Linked DNA regions of Homo sapiens: regions 1, 2, 3, 4 and 6 are each linked to region 5. The links are contacts of gene promoters, found by promoter capture Hi-C in blood cells and fetal thymus (Javierre and others, 2016). All regions are on one chromosome and are shown on one strand. The core of a region is centred on a gene start or on the middle of the fragment in contact, and the rest is flanking DNA. Distances in the headings are between cores, read along the strand shown.

Region 1 (3,312 bases), core at 660-3,159, 6.1 Mb after region 5:
AGTTCTTCTGCCTCAGCCTCCCAAGTACCTGGGATTACAGGCACCCAGCACCATGCCCGGCTAATGTTTTGTATTTTTAGTAGAGACGGGGTTTCACCATGTTGGCCAGGCTGATCTCGAACACTTGACCTCAGGTGATGACCTGCCTCGGCCTCCCAAAGTGCTGGGATTACAGGCATGAGCTACCGCACCCCGCCTCATGTTTATTTTTTAAACCAATGGGCATGTTTTTGTTTGTTTGTTTTTTTCTGAGGTAGAGTCTTGCTCTGTTGCCCAGGCTTGAGTGCAGTGATGCGATCTTGGCTCACTCTAACCTCTGCCTCCTGGGTTCAAGCGATTCTCCTGCCCCAGCTTCCCAGGTAGCTGGGACTACAGGTGTGCACCACCACACCTGGCTAATTTTTTTTGTATTTTTAGTAGAGATGGGGTTTCACCATGTTAGGCTGGTCTCAAACTCTTGACCTCAAATGATCTGCCTGCCTTGGCCTCCTAAAATGCTGGGATTACAGGTGTGTGCCACCATACCTGGCCTGGGCTAGTTTAAATAAGCGTATTGGCCCACTTAATTGGCTTACTTGCCCATCTATTATATTTAAATGCTCCGTTAATTGATTTGATAGACTACCTTTCATTTTTTTAGACTTGACACTTCCCTAACCCATTGGGCTCCAGATTTAGAAATAACTATATAACCTTTTTTTTGTATTCTCGGGATTTGATTGATTTGTCAATTTTTAAATTTTACTCTTGTCAACTTGCAAAAACATTTTAAAATGTATTACAGCAATACACTGCAGAAATTTTAAGAAATGTATATAACCCCAGAAGGAAACTTAAGTCAACATTATGGTAATCTCTTTTCAGATTTTGCTGTTTATAAATGGGTCTACTATTATACTGTACTGTGGTATGATACCAATCTGGAACTGTTAATATTTGAACATATTTCCATATTAATATACAAATCTACATTAACATAAGTGGCTGCAATAGGATTCTATCATGTGACTCATGATACTGGCCTCTCTGACCCCCAGGGTTCCACCCAAGAATGTAGTACATTGAAAGGTAAAAATAAGTTTCCTTGGCCAGTTGTTGAACTTAATAAATCTGTGTTTACCCCTTAGTGGGCCCATGCCTAAGGTTTATACTTTGAGGTGTTCTTGATACCAATAGCATACAGAGTAAGTCTTAACGTTGTTGATAGGTTCTTGGAAACTGGGACTTCTAGCAGAATGACCTCAAATAATGTCATGCAGGTCCTCAAATAATGTCATGTCACTGTAACACAGCTGAGGGGAAAAAAATTGGTCTTGTTATGTGTCATTTCATTTAAAGCAATTTCCAAGAACCTATCAACAATGGACTGTAAGTGAGAACTTGAAATTAATGCCCTAACTATATAGCAAGTGAAGGCATTTGTGCTGTGCCTACTCTTACTCTGTATTCAGGAAAACCTAGCTGAGTTTAATTGCTTCCCTAGCATAACAAGTTATTTTGCCTCAATACACGATTAAAGACAGATTGTTTAATTTTGTCAGTGTATGATACTGATAGCGCTTTAAGTCCTTATTTAAGAGGTACGTACTGAAGTATTTGTGGGTTAATGGATATAGTTGGAGTTTGCTTGAAAGTATATGTGGGGGGCATGCGTAGGGGTGTAATACATGAAATATTAGTCATGAGTTAGTAACTGCTGAAGCCAAATTGGATGGATATGTAGGAATTCATTGTACTGTTGGCTCTGTTTATACAGGATTAATATTTTCCATACGTAAAGGTGAAACATGATTGCTCTGTTAGGTAACCAGAGTGATCTTGGGAAATAATCAGGAGATAACTGCTTTGGTGTAATACTCTACAAACACAGGTTTTCTTACATGAGTTATGTTCTAAGAGACGTTGCCCAAACCCTTACTGAACTAAAATATGTGGGTCAGAGGTGAGGGGCACGAAGTCTCAGTTTAAAAAAAAAAAAAAAGGCGTGTTTTTTTGCCCTGTTAGAAAATACTCCTCCCCTTGTATTTTACGGACCACATGGGCTAAGGGAGTGTCTAGCACTGATTGTTTTGTTTGCTTGTTTAATTTAAATGAGACAAGGTCTGGAACTCCTGTGCTCCAGGGTGCTATCCTCAGGGTATCCTCCTGACTCGGCCTCTCAAAGTATAATTACCCTTTTTTTAAGGGGACTATACTGAATAGTTCTTTAAAATACGGATTTTCAGGCACAGGGGCTCAGGTCTGTAATCCGAACACTATAGGATGCCGAGGCAGGATCCCTTGAGCCCAGTAGTTCAAGACCAGCCTGAGCGACATGAGAACCCCCATCTCTATTAAAAAAAAAAAAATTCAAAAATTAGCTGGTCTGTGGTCCTGGCTACTCGGGAGGCTGAGGTGGGAGGATCACTTGAGCCCAGGAGATGGAGGCTGCAGTGAGCCATGTTTGTGCCACTGCACTCCAGCCTAGGCAACAGAGCAAGATCCTATCTCAAGAGAAGATTATAGATTTAAAATTTTTTTAGTTTTATATATAAATACTACAATAGAAGGGTCTTGATTTACATTGCTGTTAGACTTTTAATAGAAGTAATTTGATGTGTTATAAGTAATGAAACTGAAATACTTAATTAACATTTTTTGGTTATAACCAGTGTTAGCCAGTCATGGTTTAGTACCAGCATATACCTGTTGAGTTAATACTCTAAATATTGCTAATGAGGTGTAGGTGTCTGTGGGAAAGTTGAAACTTGGAAAGGATATGCAGCTTACTTCCCCAGGGTAATCCAGCCAGTGAATAGCAGCTCTGAGATTTGAAGGCTAGTCTCTTTGCCTCTGGAGTTTGTGTTCTCCACTATGATACCTTTCTTCAGGAGCAAATTGGACTGAACTACTTAAGTGGGCTTTCTTAGTCATTTCTGTGATTTTTATGCATAAACAAACATCTATGTATAGATTTTATGATTCTGACCTTAGTTGGATATTTAATAAAAGTACAAAATTAATGTTTTGTTTTTAGGCATGAAAGATGGCCAGAAGATAACATTCCATGGTGAAGGAGACCAAGAACCAGGACTGGAGCCAGGCGATATTATCATTGTGTTAGATCAGAAGGACCATGCTGTTTTTACTCGGTAAAGACTTTTATCAACCACTCAAATTGATATCACATATTTGGGTTGTTGGTTTTGTTTTTTGTTTTTTTGTTTTTTTTAAAGTGTTTTCCATTACTCTTAGAACCTATTTCTCAGGAAGATTGTTAACCATTGTTCAGATCATAAGAGGTTGAATACATAGGATCAGATTTTTAGCTTT
Region 2 (3,117 bases), core at 185-2,684, 6.1 Mb after region 5:
TATATAATGTGCAAAATTGGGCAGAGTTTCCACGTCCTGCTTGTTAGGCCTAGTCCATTGTCTATAGTGTATTAGTGGCCAGAAAAGCAAGATCACATGGCACAATGTATAGCTAAAGGTATGGCAGGCAGTGAAGACTTTCAGGCACTTCATATTGCCATGCTAATCACCAGAACTTTTTCATCTTGAAAAACTGAAACTCGGCCAGGCACGGTGGCTCACACCTGTAATCCCAGCACTTTGGGAGGCCAACGCAGGTGGATTACCTGAGGTCAGGAGTTCAAGACCAGCCTGGCGTGGCGGAACTCGCCTGTAGTCCCAGCTACTTGGGAGGCTGAAGCAGAAGAATTGCTTGAACCCGGGAGGTAGAGGTTGCAGTGAGCCAAGATCACTCCACTGCACTCCAGCCTGGGCGATAGAGCAAGACTCTGCCTCAAAAAAAAAACTCCGTATCGATTAAATAGCTCCCTATTTTCCCTCCCCCACCTGGCAACCACCATTCTACTTACAGTTTTCATGAGTCTGACCACTCTAGGTACCTCATGTAAGTAAAATCAGACAGTATTTGCCCATTTGCGACTGGCTTATTTCACTTAATATAATGTCCTCAAGTTTCATCCACATTGTATCATGTGTAAAAAGTTCCTTTTTAAAGCTGAATAACACTCCATTGCATGTACACACCATACTTTATCCATTCATCCACCCGTGGATATTCCACCATTTGGCTATTGTGAATAATGCTGCTATGAACATGAGTGTATAAATATCTCTTTGAGATCCTGTTTTCACAATTTGCAATTGCAAGAACATGGAACCAACCTAAATGCCCATGAACTGATGAATGCATAAAGAAAATGTCGTACATATACACCACAGAATACTACTCAGCCATAAAGAAGAATGAAATAATGTCTTTTGAAGCAACTTGAATGGAACTGGAGGCCATTTTTCTAAGTGAAGTAACTCAGGAATGGAAAACCAAATACCACATGTTCTCACTTATAATTGGCAGCTAAGCTTTGGGTATGTAAAGGCATACAGAGTGGTATAATGTTCATTGGAGATTCAGAAGTGGAGAGAGTGGGAGGAAGATGAGAGATTTTAAAAAACTACATATTGGGTGTAACTATTACTCGGGTGATAGGTACACTAAAATTTCAGACTTCACCATTATACACTTCATCCATGAAACCAAAAACCATTTGTACCCCTAAAGCCACTGAAATTTGTTTTTAATGTGAAACAATTTTTAAAAATTCTTCTTTCAATTATTTTGAATATATACACAGAAGTGAAACTGCTGGATTATATGGTAATTCCATTTTTAATATTTTGAGGAACTGTCACACTGTTTTCCATAGCAGCTGGATGATTTTACATTTCTACCAATAGTGTACAAGAGTTCCAATTTCTCCACATTCTTGCCAACCCTTTTTTTTTTTTTTTTTTTTGAGATGGAGTCTCGCTCTGTCACCCAGGCTGGAGTGCAGTGGTGCAATCTCGGCTCCCTGCAACCTCCACCTCGCGGCTTAAGGCGATTCTCCTGCCTCAGCCTCCTGAGTAGCTGGGACTACAGGTGCCTGCCACCACACCCGGGTAATTTTTGTATTTTTTTTTTTTTTAGAAGAGATGGGGTTTCACCATATTGGCCAGGCTGATCTCAAACTCCTGACCTTGTGATCCACCCACCTCGGCCTCCCAAAGTGCTGGGATTACAGGTGTGAGCCACTGCGCCCGGCCGCTTGTTACTTTTTTTTGATAGCAGCCATCCTAATGGGTGTGAAATGGTATCTCATTGTGGTTTTGCTTTGTATTTCCCTAATGATTAGTGATGTTGATCTTTTCATAAGCTTCCTGTCTATTTGTATGTATTTGGAGAAATGTCTATTCAAGTACTTCATTTTTTAATGGGGTTATTTTTGTTTTGTTTTGTTGTAGGAGTTCTTTATATATTCTGGATATTGACCTCTGATCAAATATAAGATTCCCATTTCATAGGGTGCTTTTCACTCTGCTTGCTGGCTGTATCCCTGGATGCACAAAACTTAATTGTGAAGTACTTTAATTTACCTATTTTTACTTTTGCTGCCTGTCTTTTGGTGTTATATCCAAGAAAACATTGCCAAATCTGTCATGAAACTTTTCCCTTATGTTTTCTAAGAGTTTTATAGTTTTAGGTCTTATGTTTAGGTCTTTGATCCATTTTTGAGGTGTGGTTTTATTTTTTTGTTTTTTGTTTTTGTTTTTGTTTTTGTGAGACAGAGTCTTGCTCTGTTGCCCAGGCTGGAGTGCAGTGATGCAATCACAGCTTACTGCAGCCTTGACCACCCAGACTCAAACAATCCTCCCACCTCAGCCTCCCAAGTAGCTGGGACTACAAGCATGTCCCACCAAGCCTGGCTAATTTTTTTTTTAATAGAGACAGAGGTCTTGCTATGTTGCCCAGGCTGATCTTGAACTCCTGGGCTCAAGCAATCCTCCTGCCTCAGCCTCCCAAAGTGCTGACATTACAGGTGTGAGACACTGTGCCTGGCCTTGAGTTCATTTTCTGTACTATGTAAGGTAAGGCTCCAACTTCAATTTTTTGCATGTGGATACCCAGATTTTAACAATATCATTTGTTGAAAAGACTGCCCTTTCCTCACTGAATGGTATTGACATACTTACTGAATATCATTTAATCATTTATGCAAGGATTTACTTCTGGGATTTCTATTGTATTCCATCAGTCTGTATGTCTGTCTTTACACTAGTACTGCACTGTTTTGATTACTATAGCTTTGTAATACTTTTTGAAATCAGGAAGTATAAGAACTTTATTCTTTTTTTTTTCAAGATTGTTTTTGGCTACTCTGCTCAGGGTTTTGTTGTTTGTTTGTTTGTTTGTTTGTTTTAATTCCAACAGTTAGAAATGAGATCTCACATGAAAACCTGGATTCTGGCTGGGCTCAGTGGCTCATGTGTGTAATCCCAGCATTTGGGAAGATGAGTCAGGAGGATTGCTTGAGGCCAGGAGTTCAAGATCAGCCCAGCCAACATAGCAAGACCCTCTCTCTATAAAAAAAATTTTAATAAAAAGAATTTTTTTTAAAAATCAGGATTCCTGATCTCTTG
Region 3 (3,078 bases), core at 139-2,638, 5.7 Mb after region 5:
AGGGACGGGGTTTCACTGTGTTAGCCATGATGGTCTCGATCTCCTGACTTCGTGATCTGCCCGCCTCGGCCTCCCAAAGTGCTGGGATTACAGGCATGAGCCACTGCGCCTGGCCGGAAAGATTTCCTTAAAACAAAAGTGCATGGAATTGCTGTTCTTACATTTGTTTATTGTGATATTTCACTGTTGCATACCCTGATACCAAATTAGTGTAAGTACTGTGTAAGAAAAAAACAAACAAACATGTAACTAAATACTTTTCCATACCGTTTTCCAAGTCAAGAATGACCAGAAAAAGTAGGTAGTCTCTCATATTTGTTTAGCATGTCCACTTTTTACTTATTGTTAAATTACTCAGTCTCAAATTGTACAATGCTTGAAAACAGATATGACAATTTCTGAGATTAAACTTTATTAAAGTTACTTTTCCAGAAAATTCAGTAAATATGGTAATATAGGAACAAACTTAGGCTCATAAGCCTTTTAACTTTTTACATAATCTTTAATGATGTTGATCAGGAAATTCTTTCATTGGTGGAATTACTTCTCCAGTCTCCAGAATTGTATCACCCTAGGAAAACAAAGATACAGTTAGTACAAAAATCTTAAGTCTACAGAGGTGATAGTTCTATTCTGTTCTATGTTCATCAGATCTCACATGGAAAATGTACTTGAGTTCTGGCATTCCCTTTAAAAGGACCCTAGACAAAGTAGAAGCTGACTAAATCTGAACAATCAGTATTCAAAATTTTAAGGTATAGTGAAATAATAGGGAAATTTTCACTCAGAAACAAAATAATCAAAAAGGGCACGAAAATTGTGTTCTCTAAGTGATAAAGGGATAATCTTTTATTTTGTATGACCCCAATAAATGGAGGCCCCAGAAAGAAGTTGCAAGGAAACATCTGCAGTTCCAGATAAGGAGGTAATGTACCCCCAGCAACTGAATGTGTTACGCAATCACCAGTTTTCTGATTGGCTTACATACTGAATACAGAATACAAACTTTGGCTAGGCAGCTGGTCCAGATGTCTTTTCAATTCTTGATATAGATGTGGGCAAAAAGGCATGGGCATTGAAGCCAGAACCAAGTGGTAAGAATCTTGGAACCTCCACTGACAAGCTGTATAGTTTTAAGACAGATTATTCAATTTCAGTTTCAGCCATGTGTTTAAGATAGATTCTGTTAGCCTGCCAGTCCCTGAATGACTGGGAAGAGTAGAATTGTCCCCATACCCACCCCAATCCCTGCCATTCCCTGACCTGGTACTGCTCAGGATTATAGTCCAATGAAAAAATAAATATGTTTATGCCATTATACATTTGGGCAACAATTTGTTAGTACAGCTAGCATTATCCCAATAGAAATCATTGCCTTGAAGTGGCACTAATGCTGCTGTAATAAAAATCAAGCTATAGGGCACTGGCTTAGCAGTCTGGTAGCAAAGATAAAGATGGAAACAAAAGGCAGTGGCAAACTATTTAGCAAAATATCTCCTATAACTTGGAAGCTGACTGCCTAATGAACTTGAGGTTCTAGAAGAAGTAGCTGGGAAAAAAAGTTATAGTATGTGTTTGGATCCTTGGGATCCTTGGATGCCTTGGGAATGTACTTTAAGAAGCATGAGCTCAGGCAAAAAGTGGCTGATTTGAGAGGCGACATAAAAATGGAGAGGACGAGAGAACACTTTGGTGCACGCTAGAGACTTTCTGTTCCTGACCAAAAAAAAAAAAAGTTAATAGAATCTAAAAATTTGGGCCAGTCATGGTGGCTCATGCCTGTAATCCCAGCACTTTGGGAGTCCAAGGCAGGAGGATTGCTTGAGGCCCAGAGTTCAAAACCAGCCTGAGCAAGAGTAGGACCCTGTATCTAAAAAATAAATAAAAAATCAGGACCTTGTGGTATTGAAAAATCACACTACTTCAGAATTCCTAAACAATAAGTTAACACAAGAAATCTGAGCAACAGAAGCCCAATAAAACTCAAACAGAGGGACACAGCCCTATGGCAAAGATCAGTTTAAAATGAAGGTAGCCTTTGAACCAGTCTGCCTCAGATGGCCTCCACATAGCTGCCACAGAGGTGAGAGAGGCAGATGCATAAGGACAAAGAAATGAGACAAGCTGGTAACTGTGTATAGGAAAAACAGATACTGGCATGAGACACTGACTAGAAGTAAACACATTAGATGTCTACCAAATATTTTTCTTTTCATGCTTCTAAATGTTAAGGGAAATGGATGGACAAACCAAACATATAGTTTACAGAATCCTGCCAGAATGTTTGAAATTAAAACAACCTCTGGCATTCAACCTCCTGCAAGCAGGTGGCAGATTCTGAAGCCCATACAGCCCCCTAAGGAGGGCATGCTTCCCAATACCATTTAGATGTGGTCTAGGTAGATAATGAAAAGAACAAACCCCCTGGACAGAGCCAGGAACCAGGAAGAACGATGGATAAAGGTGTTCTTTCAAGAAAACAAAATCAGTGCCCATTCAAGTAATTTCTCACACACGGGTTAGGAGTGAGATTTCAGGATTGCCAAGAACCAGTGACTACTATGCTATCCAAATTCTACCACTGAACAATGGGTGTGGTTGGGGGACAAGGATACAGTTAACTTGTCTTCTTAGTTCACTGATCCTCAGATCAACAGAAGTCATATATAAACCTGACATACTATTTTACATCATCTGGAGATCATGGATTTGGGGCCGGGGTGCAATGATGGAATGGGACTTTGGGATTTCTCCCTAAGGAGAGAGACTAAGTGTGTTATGCATGGGTAAAGAAAGAAGCCAAGAGCTGTTTGGTGACTAGAAAGATGGAATGTAGCAGAAACTCCATGAACAGGGGTCTGGGAAATAGCAAAGAGCACACAGATAATATTTGGGAAGATGACAGTGAGTTTTAGCTAACAGAATTTGAGCAGAAGTGATGTAAGCTACTTCTAAGCTTAGATCCTAAAAATCATCCCCTGAGACATCCTGCCGTATCTTTGTATCACAATCTTGGAACCTCATATTCGATAGGCACGGCTGTAAGATTGAGGAAGATCACCTGATTCACAGTAGTCT
Region 4 (3,289 bases), core at 591-3,090, 7.5 Mb before region 5:
GAACTACAAAGGATATGGAGTTATTGTGCTCCTGTCACTATTGTCTGCTAATATGCTCAGATTAGTACTCATCCCCTCCTCAACATAAGTGAATTTTGCAGTAGAAGCTTCAGAATAGTGTGCGTAATCGCGTATATCAAACATTCCTAATGTTTCCATGGTCCCCTTCAAGTTTTTTAGGTCATGGCATCTTTGAAGATAATCTCAGAAGTGACAGGGCAAGAATTGATAATGAAAATGGATGGATCCATTTTTACTATCAGTAGTTGAGGTAGAGATGACCTTCTTCACAGTCTGTAATATGAGTAGCTTGCTTCAAGCATCTGTAGTTTAAGGACAGGAATGTAATATTAGAAATGTCATATTATGGCTTCTGAAGCTTCTAAAGAAAGTGATACCAAGTGTCACTAGAATCAGCCTTACGTCTTTTTTTTCTCTGTACATCAGTGCATTTCTTAAGTTTTCCTGTCATCTTTAACAACTGAGTCATGAAGCTCACTTTTAGTGTTTCATTTGTAACATTTTAATGCTCACAAACCAAATAAAGGTGAACTGTCCTTTGCTATTGGGTTAAATAGTAAAGAGACCACACCACCTTTTACATTGTTTGTGTCAAGGGTTTTAGACCCCTAACTTACTTAGAAATTAATCTGTTACTTTGTCAAGTGACAAAAGATGAGAGAAGACTCTGCTTTTGTAAATTTTATTTAGAAATTAGAGTTAAAACAGTTATGTATTGTTGAAATGTAATAAAGTTAAGCCATTTTTGTTACTAGTGTGAAGCTTTATGCCCATTAACTATGTTTTAACTTTAATTTGGAATAGAAACCTGCAGGAAGTTACAAAAATAGTACAGAATTCAATGTAGCCTTCACACAGCTTCCTCCAAATGTGACACCTCATATAACTAACTGTAATGTAATATTAAAACCAGGACATTGACATAGTTATATTACTATTAACTAGATGACAGAACTTAATGTCTTCACCATTAAAAAAAATGCATCTGTGTTTTTATGCTATTTGCCCATTGACTTTTAAAACATATTTGTTTTATAGGAGTTTATACAGAGAAATCCTCTTCTTATCATTAGTGTCTCTAGGAAGAGAGAATATTGATATTGGTAAGTTGGTTAATAAAAGATTATGAAAGGAAGTTTTACATTTTATTTTCAAAAGTAATTTTTAAAAATGTAGCTGGTATGTATAAAAGATTTAAAAGATTTCTACTTCTAAATATATAGTTCAAATACATATAATTTGACTCAATACCAATTTGAAATGAACGGCTGTTGTCTTTCTTAACAAATTACAACTTCATTTTTGAAAATTTCTTTCAGAGGCATTTGACAATGAATATGGAATTGCATACAATAGTCTGTCTTCAGAGATTCTTGAAAGGTTGCAGAAAATTGATGCTCCACCAAGTGCCAGTGTCGAGTGGTGCAGGAAGTGTTTTGGAGCGCCTCTCATTTAAATAGAGATTCACTAGAATGTTGACACACAAGGCTTGGGGATTAGATTTCATCTGGAAACATTCAAGTTTTTTTTTCCAAATCGTAAGAACTGGTGAATACGGAATTGAAGTAACTCTTGGGGACAATATATAATGAATTATGATTCATATTGCATTACCTTGAAATATGAAGTGCCATTTGAATGTCCCAGGGCTTATTAATATTGAAGATTTTCAACCCCTGAACTGCTTTTCTGCCTCTGTGGAAAACTACTTTGGGATTCTTCAGTATTTGTAGTAGTTTGATAGAAATAATGAGGAACCATATTCATTCTAGGCATTGTTTATATTTGAAGTTACTGAGTTTGAGGAATGGCAAATTAAATTTGCCTAACCCCCAAAACAAATGAAATATCTCAATTATAAAAGCAACATGGCCGGGCACGGTGGCTCAGGCCTGTAATCCCAGCACTTTGGGAGGCTGAGCAAGGTGGGTGGATCACTTGAGGCCAGGAGTTCGAGACCAGCCTGGCCAACACGGTGAGACCCTGTCTTTACTAAAAATACAAAAATTAGCCAGGCGCACCACTGTAGTCCCAGCTACTCAGGCTGAGGCAGGAGAATCGCTTGAACTGAGGCAGAGGCTACAGTGAGTGGAGATCACGCCACTGCAACTCCAGCTTGGGTGACAGAGTGAGACCGTCTCAAAAAAAAAAAAAAAAAAAAAAGAGAGCAACATATTTGTGTAAGTTTGTATATGTGTAGGGCTGTGTAGGTATGTGTATATACAGCCATATTCTAAGTGTATATTTATTAAAATAGATTGCATGTTGCAATACGGTTTTCTGAAAGGGGTCTCATTGACTATTAAATAAATGACTACTACTAAACTTGTCTGTAGTCATTAATCTTAAAATTACCTGAAAATCTGATGACAGCTGCCTTCCCTAACTTTAATGTATTAGGTTGGCACAAAATTAATTGTAGTTTTTGCCACTATTAATGGCAAAAACCGCAATTATTTTTGTACCAACATAATACACCTTTCATATTATGTATTATCTTGCTTAATGGGTTTTATCTTGATTATCCAGTTACTTCCATCCTCTTCCCAATGTTAATTTGCAATAGTTTTAAAATGGGAACAAATGAATCAATCATCAGATAGTTAAAATGAAATTAAATCAGCTGCCTAATAATTTATGGAATTCATTGGAATGTGCTTAAAATGCTAAAGTGTATGTCATTGAACATGAAATCTTTTTTCAGGCACATACATTGTTGGTATTGATGACTTTTTAAAACCTGTGGGATAAACTTGCACTGCACACGGAAGTTTTATTCTTGTATATTTAGATTTGTATGCTTGTGAGTAAAAATGTGCATTTGTAAATACTGTGTTTTTAGGTTGAATCAATTAAGTCTTAAAACTGTAAATTTATTAAGCTTGTTGCCAGTAGGTTTAAGAAAATCATGATCTCACATGCCTCACTTTGACATTTATCATGCCTTTTATTAAAAATATCCCTTAGGAACAGTAAGTTTGCCTTAACTCTCTGCATGGTTTAAAAAGCCATTGGTTTTGTGTGTGTTTACAGTAATTATGCAGATGACTAAATGAGTTGACACAGTAAAATTACTTCCATATGGTACAGTAACAACCTAACTCCCTTCTACCTGATGTAACCATTTACAAATTATAGTTATTGTACCAGTCTTTCAACATTTCAGGGTTAATCTGACCTATGCAGAATTCTAGTGTGAATTTATTGTGAAAATGCTAAATGAAACAATTTGTCAGAAATTATGTACAATTTTCATTACCTTCAAAAT
Region 5 (3,332 bases), core at 154-2,653:
TATATACTGTTTGGACTATAAATCTGTAAAGTCTCATTTGGAAAGCATTTGGTGGCATTCATAAGTTTTTAATAGCATAAACTTTGACCCAGGAATTTCAGTTCTCACACTCTCTCCCAACATAACTCTTGTAGGAGATATATACATAAAGGTGTTTGTATTGTAGTCACAACAATACAAAAAAACCTGCACACCCAAATATCAGAAAAATATAATACAATACCAGGCAGTCAGTAAAAATAACAAACCACGTATATAAAGAAGCCTATCACAACAATGCAGGTATTCAACAGCGGGAATAACACAATACAGCTTAAGTGTAGGAACTTAAAAACACGTATCTCACGAGGAGTGATTAAAAGAGGCCGCGTATCAAAATACTAATGGAGGGGCAAGAAAAGGGACTTGACGCTTTCCCTTTATTTCCTCATTGAATGAATTTAAAGTACCTATTCATTCATTTGTTTTCAAACAAATTATGAACTTTTTTAAAACGGCGTTCTCTTGGCAGACTGGTGGCGTATAAAGAACATGGCTTTTGTAGTCAGATATTTGGATTCAAACCTAGGAGCTATTAACAAACTCTGTGACCGTGGGTAAAGTTTAACTTCTTTGGGCCTCAATTTTCTTATCTCTAATGCGGAGTTAACCATATCTACGAAAAGGTGAAGACGAAGGGAGAAGTGTTTGGCTCGCAAGGGAAATGAAGGCTAGCTTCCAACTCGTATTCTTCCGGCAGAGTGAAACCATAGGAGTGGAAGGAGCCAAGAGTTTAAAAAATAAATTAAAAAAAAAGTGATCAGGAAATCCAGAAACTTGAAGTTCAAGATTCAAGACACGGATGGGAGTGTGGGGCTCACCAGGACTTAGGTAGGAACATGAACCTCAAGGACGGACGACCTTGAGATTGCCGCGCTAGCAGTGAGCTCCAGCCTGCGCCCCATCCCTCTGGAAGCCCGACTTCTTCCGAAAAAGCAGCAGCTCCAGGAAGCGGCCAGAGGGGCGCGCACGCACCTGCTGCAAGGAGCCCGAGACGCTGGAAGAGTCGGTACTCCTCCGCTTCCGGCGCTCGCTGCGCTCCACGCTGCTCCCGCCCCAACAGCTGCCGCCGCTCCCACCGCCGGTGACACTTCCACTAAAATTGGCGTTCCCACAGCAGCTGACGCTCCCGCAGCCCCCGGCGCTCCCGCAGCCGCTAGTGCTTCCACTGCTGCCGCTGGCCAACGCGGGTACGATGTCCGGGGCCGCGAGCGCTGCGGCCGCCTCCTGACTGCTACGTTTGCGCCGTTTCTCCCGGGAGGACTTTTTCCCCGTCATGATCCCTCTGCTGCAACCATCGGAGGAAAGTCCGCTGTCTCTGGTGCGACCGAAGCCCGACTCCTGCGGCCGTGGGCGGCAGGCACTGGCGTCGCAGGTTATGCGTCACTTCCGGCCGTGGCACAGAACGTGGTGAAGCGTTATGGGCCGGGGTGGCAGGGGGGTTGCCATAACCAGTTGCGCTTCCCCCTCCGGTCGCGGAGGTCGATTTGAGTGTGTAGCGGGTAGCCTGTCTAGTCAGAGTTTGTTTTGTTTTGTTTTTATATCTCTACAAAGGATAGAAGGTGGAACTTACGTCCTTTTAACTTCAAAACTTTTTATTGTTAGTGTTTTGTCTGTTTACAATAAGGTTGAAGTATAGTTGCTGATTCTCCATTTCCGTTTACCTCCAAATCTTAAGATATTAACAACGCTATGACAATAAAGAGAATAGGGAAAAGTTGTTCCATCTCATTTTCCTCATCACCTGGGCAAATTAGGTATTTCTTGCGTAGAGTCTGACATGGACAAGTAGAGCTTGAGTTCGTTTTTGAAAATTGAGAATGGGTCAAAGCTTTATGAGATTTTATGGGTGGATGTAATCTAAATAGAAGGCAGATTTTAAGACAAGGGAGCTAGAACACTTAAAACGTGAACCAAGGTCTTTGTCGTTTCAGCAGGGGCCTTTAGCCACTGAGGGAAAAAGGTAGAGCCTGGGGCAAAGCTAGCTGGGTGGTAGTAATTCTGTGCCTTTCCCTGGGGTAAGAAGCAATTAAAGAAGCTTCCCTTCTCTTTGTCTCCTATTTGTCTCAGTCATTCAACAACTACTTAAATGCCTAAAACCAGCCTAGGGTTAATAAATAGGGACACTTCCAGCCCTAGGAAAACTGTCTTCCCCCAGGCCCCACTCTTAAATTGGCCTTGTAAGGTAAATCCTGGGGCTGAGCCCACTGTGTTCCCAGGAGTTCCGTTAAGTATCACACTCATTGGAGTCATACCTGAAAGGATTGAGAGTGTTGTGTTCACAGATAGGAAAAACACATAAAATTAATAACATGTTACATTTATAAACCTGTTATGAATTGTGTCCCTGAAACCATCATAATTTTAATAAAACTAAATTGCTAGATTTTTTCTTTTTTCTTTTTTTTTTTTTTGAGACGGAGTTTCACTCTCGTTGCCCAGGCTGGAGTGCAATGGCACAATCTCGGCTCACTGCAACCTCCGCCTCCCGGGTTCAAGCATTTCTCCTGCCTCAGCCTCCTGAGTAGCTGGGACTACAGGCATGCGCCACCATGCAGGGCTAATTTTGTATTTTTAGTAGACAAGGGGTTTCTCCATGTTGGTCAGGCTGGTCTCGAACTCCCGACCTCAGGTGATCCACCCGCCTCAGCCTCCCAAAGTGCTGGGATTACAGGCGTGAGCCATCGTGCCCTGCCAAATTGCTGGATTTGTGACAAAAGATAAGCTTTTAGTAGAAGCATAGCTAAACGTTAACCAACTTTTCCTATAGCCCACTTCCTTATAGCTGCTTATTGCTTTATAGATATCTTTGACTCGGTTAAGAAATCTCAAGTTTTCCATTTTGAGATATTTACCAGATTCTGTACTCCAATGGTGTTACAGAAGTTAAGAAATTATTTTAGGCAGATAGAGAGGTAAAGGGGTCTTTGGGAAGTTTTTTTTCTTTTAAAGCAGCTCCAGAAATGTTTCTTGTCTAGCAAAAAAGCTGGGCTGGCAAGCTATGATATGCAAATGCAGGCCGTTAGAAACTGGGTTTACTCAGTATGGCGATTCCCCTCTTCTTCTTGTCCCCACATGTGCCTAGCAACATGGCCATCCCCACATATCCCCACATGTGTAGAACATTGTGGCACCCTACATTCGCATATTAAAAGGCTAGGGTGGGAGGGCCACTTTTTTTGCAGGCTACGTGAATGACATACCTGGTCAAACCAATTCCCTGGGTCATATGCAAATTAGTCACCACCTCCTCCAGCCTCATAATATAACTGGCTCTTGTCTGCTGCACCCAA
Region 6 (3,539 bases), core at 161-2,660, 7.8 Mb before region 5:
TTTTCTGATTGGGGCGGATGTGATGGCTCACACCTGTAATCTCTACACTTTGGGAGGCCGAGGCAGACGGATCACTTGAGGTCAGGAGTTTGAGACCAGCCTGGCCAACATGGTGAAACCCCATCTCTACTAAATATACAAACATTAGCCGGGCATGGTGGTGCGCACCTGTAATCCCAGCTACTCGGGAGGCTGAGGCAGGAAAATCGCTTGAACCCGAGAGGCTGAGATTGCAGTGAGCCGAGATCACACCACTGAACTCCAGCCTGGGCGACTGGGTGAGACTGTGTCTCAAAACAAAACAACAACAACAACAACAACAAAGATTTTATGATTGCCATTGGTTTAGAGTCAAGCTACTATCTAAAGACCTGGAATCCATAGAAAAGTTTCTAGGTCAAGATAAGTGGTTGTGGACACCAGGGTTAGTATGAAGTCTCATAGGTGGCCACCCAAAAGTACTAGAAGCTGGATGCGGTGGCTCACACCTATAATCCCAACACTTTGGGAGGCTGAGGCTGTGGATTGCTTCAGCCCAGGAGGCAGAGGTTTCAGTGAGCCCACATCATGCCACTGCACACCAGCCTGGGCAACAGAGCAAGACCCTGTCTCAGAAAAAAAAAAAAAATTTAGGCTAGACACAGCGGCTCACACCTGTAATCCTGCATTTTGAGAGGCCAAGGCAGGCAGATCACCTGAGGTCAAGAGTTCAAGACCAACCCAGCCAACATGGTGAAACCCCATCTCTACTAAAAAGACAAAAATTAGCTAGGCATGGTGGCAGACGCCTGTAGTCCCAGCTACTTGGGAGGCTAAGGCAGGAGAATCCCTTGAACCCAGGAGGCAGAGGTTGCAGTGAGCTGAGATCACATGCCACGCCACTGTACTCCAGCCTGGGTGACAGAGCAAGTATTGGATCCTCAGTTAATCTCTTCAGGATTGGGAGGGCCTGCCAGGGGAAAGATCTACTTATTTATTTATGAGACGGAGTCTCACTCTATCGCCCAGGCTGGAGTGCAGTGGCGCCATCTCTGCTCAGTGCAACGTCTGCCTCCTGGGTTCAAGTAATTCTCCTGCCTCAGCCTCCCAAGTAGCTGGGATTACAGGCATGCGCCACCATGCCCAGCTAATTTTTGTATTTTCAGTAGAGACGGGGTTTCACCGTGTTGGCCAGGCTGGTCTGGAACTCCAGACCTCAGGTGATCTGCCTGCCTCGGCCTCCCAAAGTGCTGAGATTACAGGCGTGAGCCACCAGCCAGCTTCTTTACAGATGTAGATTTCTCCCCATAAGCGACGACGTTGCAGGACCATTTCAAAATATAACAAAGAAACATATTTTGGGAAAAAATATTTTGATTTCCTTCTTTATCTGTCATGTGATATTATGCTAGTCAGGTTGGAAAGTAAGCTGGGTTATATAGGCTTCAACAAAACCCATCTGATGAGATTTTTATGGCTTGTAGGACATGACTCCCCAAGTTCTGTAGATAGGAATTTGGACAAGAAAGAAAAAAGATCAGAGTTTAGTTCTCACTCACTAGGCCTCATTCTAAGATTTGGCAGCTAGGCGCAGTGGCTCATGCCTGTAATCCCAGCACTTTGGGAGGCCAAGGCAGGAGGATCACTTGAGGCCAGGAATTCCAGGCTAGGCTGGTATTCTTCTGCCTCAGCCTCCTGAGTAGCTAGGATTACAGGCGTCCACCACCACACCTGACAAATTTTTGTATTTTTAGTAGAGACAGGGTTTCACCATGTTGGCCAGGCTGGTCTGGAGCTCCTGACCTCAAGTGATCTGCCCGCCTTGGCCTCCCAAAGTGTTGGGATTACAGACGTGAGCCACTGTGCCCAGCCTAATTTTTTAAGGTTTTTTGTTATAGAGAGAAGGTCTTACCATATTGCCCACACTGGTCTGGAACTCCTGGGCTCAAGTGATTCTCCCACCTTGGCCTCCCAAAGTGCTGGGATTCTAAGTGTGAGCCACTGCCCCCGGATTGCTTCTACAGTTTACTCCCTTAACTAATACTTTTTTTTTTTTTTTTTTTGAGATGGAGTCTCACTCTGCCACCCAAACTGGAGGGCGGTGGTGTGATCTTGGCTCACTGCAACCTCTGTCTCCTGGGTTCAAGCAATTCTCCTGCCTCAGCCTCCTGAGTAGCTGGGATTACAGGCCTGTGCCACCACAGCCCGGCTAATTTTTTTTTTTTTTTTTTTTTTTTGTATTTTTAGTAAAGACGGGGTTTCACCATGTTGGCCAGGCTGGTTTCAAACTCCTGACCTCAAGTGATCCACCCGCCTTGGCCTCCCAAAGTGCTGGGATTACAGGCAACTAATACTTAATGCGGCTCTGTGCCAGGCACTGCTTTATGCTTTTCACAAATGTTAACTATTTAATCTTCAGAGCAAACTTAGCCCTATTCCTGTTTTACTGATGAAAAAAATGAGGCATAGAGAAATTAAGTAACTTGCTGAAGGTCACACAGTAAGCAGCAGAGCCAGATTACAACCCAGAGTCTGAGCCCTTACCCATCATGCTATGCTTCCTCCCAGGTGACCTGCTTTTAGTCACATGCCCATCACTAGGCTAAGGGAAAGCAAAAACCTTGACCACTATACCCACTGAGACCTTCAAAAGAAGCATGAATGAATCATGGGAGACCAAAAGACAACAAATGTTCACTATACCAGTGGGAAAAAAAATCATGAAGTCAAGATTATACAGCCCAATTTTCATTATAAGTATTTCAGCAATTAAACTTTAATTATATTAAATGATTATATGACACAGAACTAGGATCTCTTACAAAAGTTTAGATCAGAGTGTCATTGCAATTAAGACCAATGTAGCCAAAAAATAGATTAACACTCTTCAAAGTCACAGGAATAAAAACAGGAAGTTTAATGTAATACAAATTGCGTATTCAACCAAAAGGGGTATTTTATTGTTGTTAGTTATTCAACATCTTGCCCTGAGAGGACAGGGCCATTAGCATGTGAATTATTTGATCCGTTCTCCTCTTCCAAAGCTATAATATCTGGAATTTCATCAGTCTCAGATGTCAAGTCTATGGTGGTGAAATCAAACACCTGTAAAAGAAGAATCTTGGATATTGAAACAAACACCGATGAAGTGAGTTGTCAGGTCCATCTGAGCTCATGGAGACTTTAGTGCATGTAGGTGAACCTTGCTTTGTCCATAGCTGTGCTTTTTGAAAAGATGTTTGTGGTCTTATTCCTGCAATTCCCTCATACTATAAAAGCACTAAGGAAACCTTTTAAAAAGGAAACTAACTAGTGGTGGAACCTAGTCAATGAAGCTTTTTTAAAAAATACCAGATATAAAGCATTTTTTGTTATTCAACTATTAATCTATTACTTTCTTAAAAACAATAATACCCCACTTTTCCATAAGCAAGTGTCTAGGCAAATGTTTAGCAACTGAGGAAACAAAAGGTCTTTTTATGGTTGAAACAGCCATCACAAAACCCTACCTCTTCCCTGCACAGGAAAGCCTTTAGGGACAAGAAACTCTATCAAATTTT

The links. The method cuts DNA at HindIII sites, captures the fragments that hold promoters and counts their contacts. A CHiCAGO score of 5 or more calls a contact.
Region 1: a fragment that was not itself captured here is called in contact with the fragment with the promoter of CAAP1 in region 5 in 1 of 17 cell types (total CD4 T cells); the score reaches 5.1 in total CD4 T cells.
Region 2: a fragment that was not itself captured here is called in contact with the fragment with the promoter of CAAP1 in region 5 in 5 of 17 cell types (naive CD4 T cells, non-activated CD4 T cells, fetal thymus and 2 more); the score reaches 8.9 in naive CD4 T cells.
Region 3: a contact is called between a fragment that was not itself captured here and the fragment with the promoter of CAAP1 in region 5, in 3 of 17 cell types (non-activated CD4 T cells, total B cells and naive CD4 T cells). The highest score is 10.8, in non-activated CD4 T cells.
Region 4: a contact is called between a fragment that was not itself captured here and the fragment with the promoter of CAAP1 in region 5, in 1 of 17 cell types (total B cells). The highest score is 5.5, in total B cells.
Region 6: a fragment that was not itself captured here is called in contact with the fragment with the promoter of CAAP1 in region 5 in 2 of 17 cell types (activated CD4 T cells and naive CD8 T cells); the score reaches 9.0 in activated CD4 T cells.

Annotation. Positions count from the first base shown.
Region 1 is chr9:33,031,200-33,034,511 of GRCh38, forward strand. It overlaps DNAJA1 (DnaJ heat shock protein family (Hsp40) member A1), which reads left to right. Exons shown (of 9, transcript NM_001539.4): 6 at 3,017-3,131. Among named protein-coding and RNA genes, the nearest start is that of DNAJA1, 7.6 kb to the left of the region's middle. The HindIII fragment of the contact is 7,193 bases long and covers 1-3,312 here.
Region 2 is chr9:33,003,197-33,006,313 of GRCh38, forward strand. It overlaps a transcript of APTX not described here. Among named protein-coding and RNA genes, the nearest start is that of APTX, 3.1 kb to the left of the region's middle. The HindIII fragment of the contact is 833 bases long and covers 1,019-1,851 here.
Region 3 is chr9:32,553,374-32,556,451 of GRCh38, forward strand. It overlaps NDUFB6 (NADH:ubiquinone oxidoreductase subunit B6), which reads right to left. Exons shown (of 4, transcript NM_002493.5): 4 at 1-571. The coding sequence ends at 503. It also overlaps a transcript of SMIM27 not described here. Among named protein-coding and RNA genes, the nearest start is that of TOPORS, 2.3 kb to the left of the region's middle. The HindIII fragment of the contact is 3,131 bases long and covers 1-2,954 here.
Region 4 is chr9:19,370,697-19,373,985 of GRCh38, forward strand. It overlaps DENND4C (DENN domain containing 4C), which reads left to right. Exons shown (of 33, transcript NM_001330640.2): 32 at 1,060-1,124; 33 at 1,341-3,289. The coding sequence ends at 1,477. Among named protein-coding and RNA genes, the nearest start is that of RPS6, 7.9 kb to the right of the region's middle. The HindIII fragment of the contact is 2,119 bases long and covers 782-2,900 here.
Region 5 is chr9:26,891,399-26,894,730 of GRCh38, forward strand. It overlaps CAAP1 (caspase activity and apoptosis inhibitor 1), which reads right to left and starts at 1,404. Exons shown (of 6, transcript NM_024828.4): 1 at 1,015-1,404. The coding sequence starts at 1,317. RefSeq lists enhancers at 803-1,382, 954-1,133, 1,214-1,433, 1,383-1,962, 1,564-1,633. The HindIII fragment of the contact is 2,677 bases long and covers 1-1,868 here.
Region 6 is chr9:19,105,664-19,109,202 of GRCh38, forward strand. It overlaps a transcript of PLIN2 not described here. Among named protein-coding and RNA genes, the nearest start is that of HAUS6, 4.5 kb to the left of the region's middle. The HindIII fragment of the contact is 3,804 bases long and covers 1-3,312 here.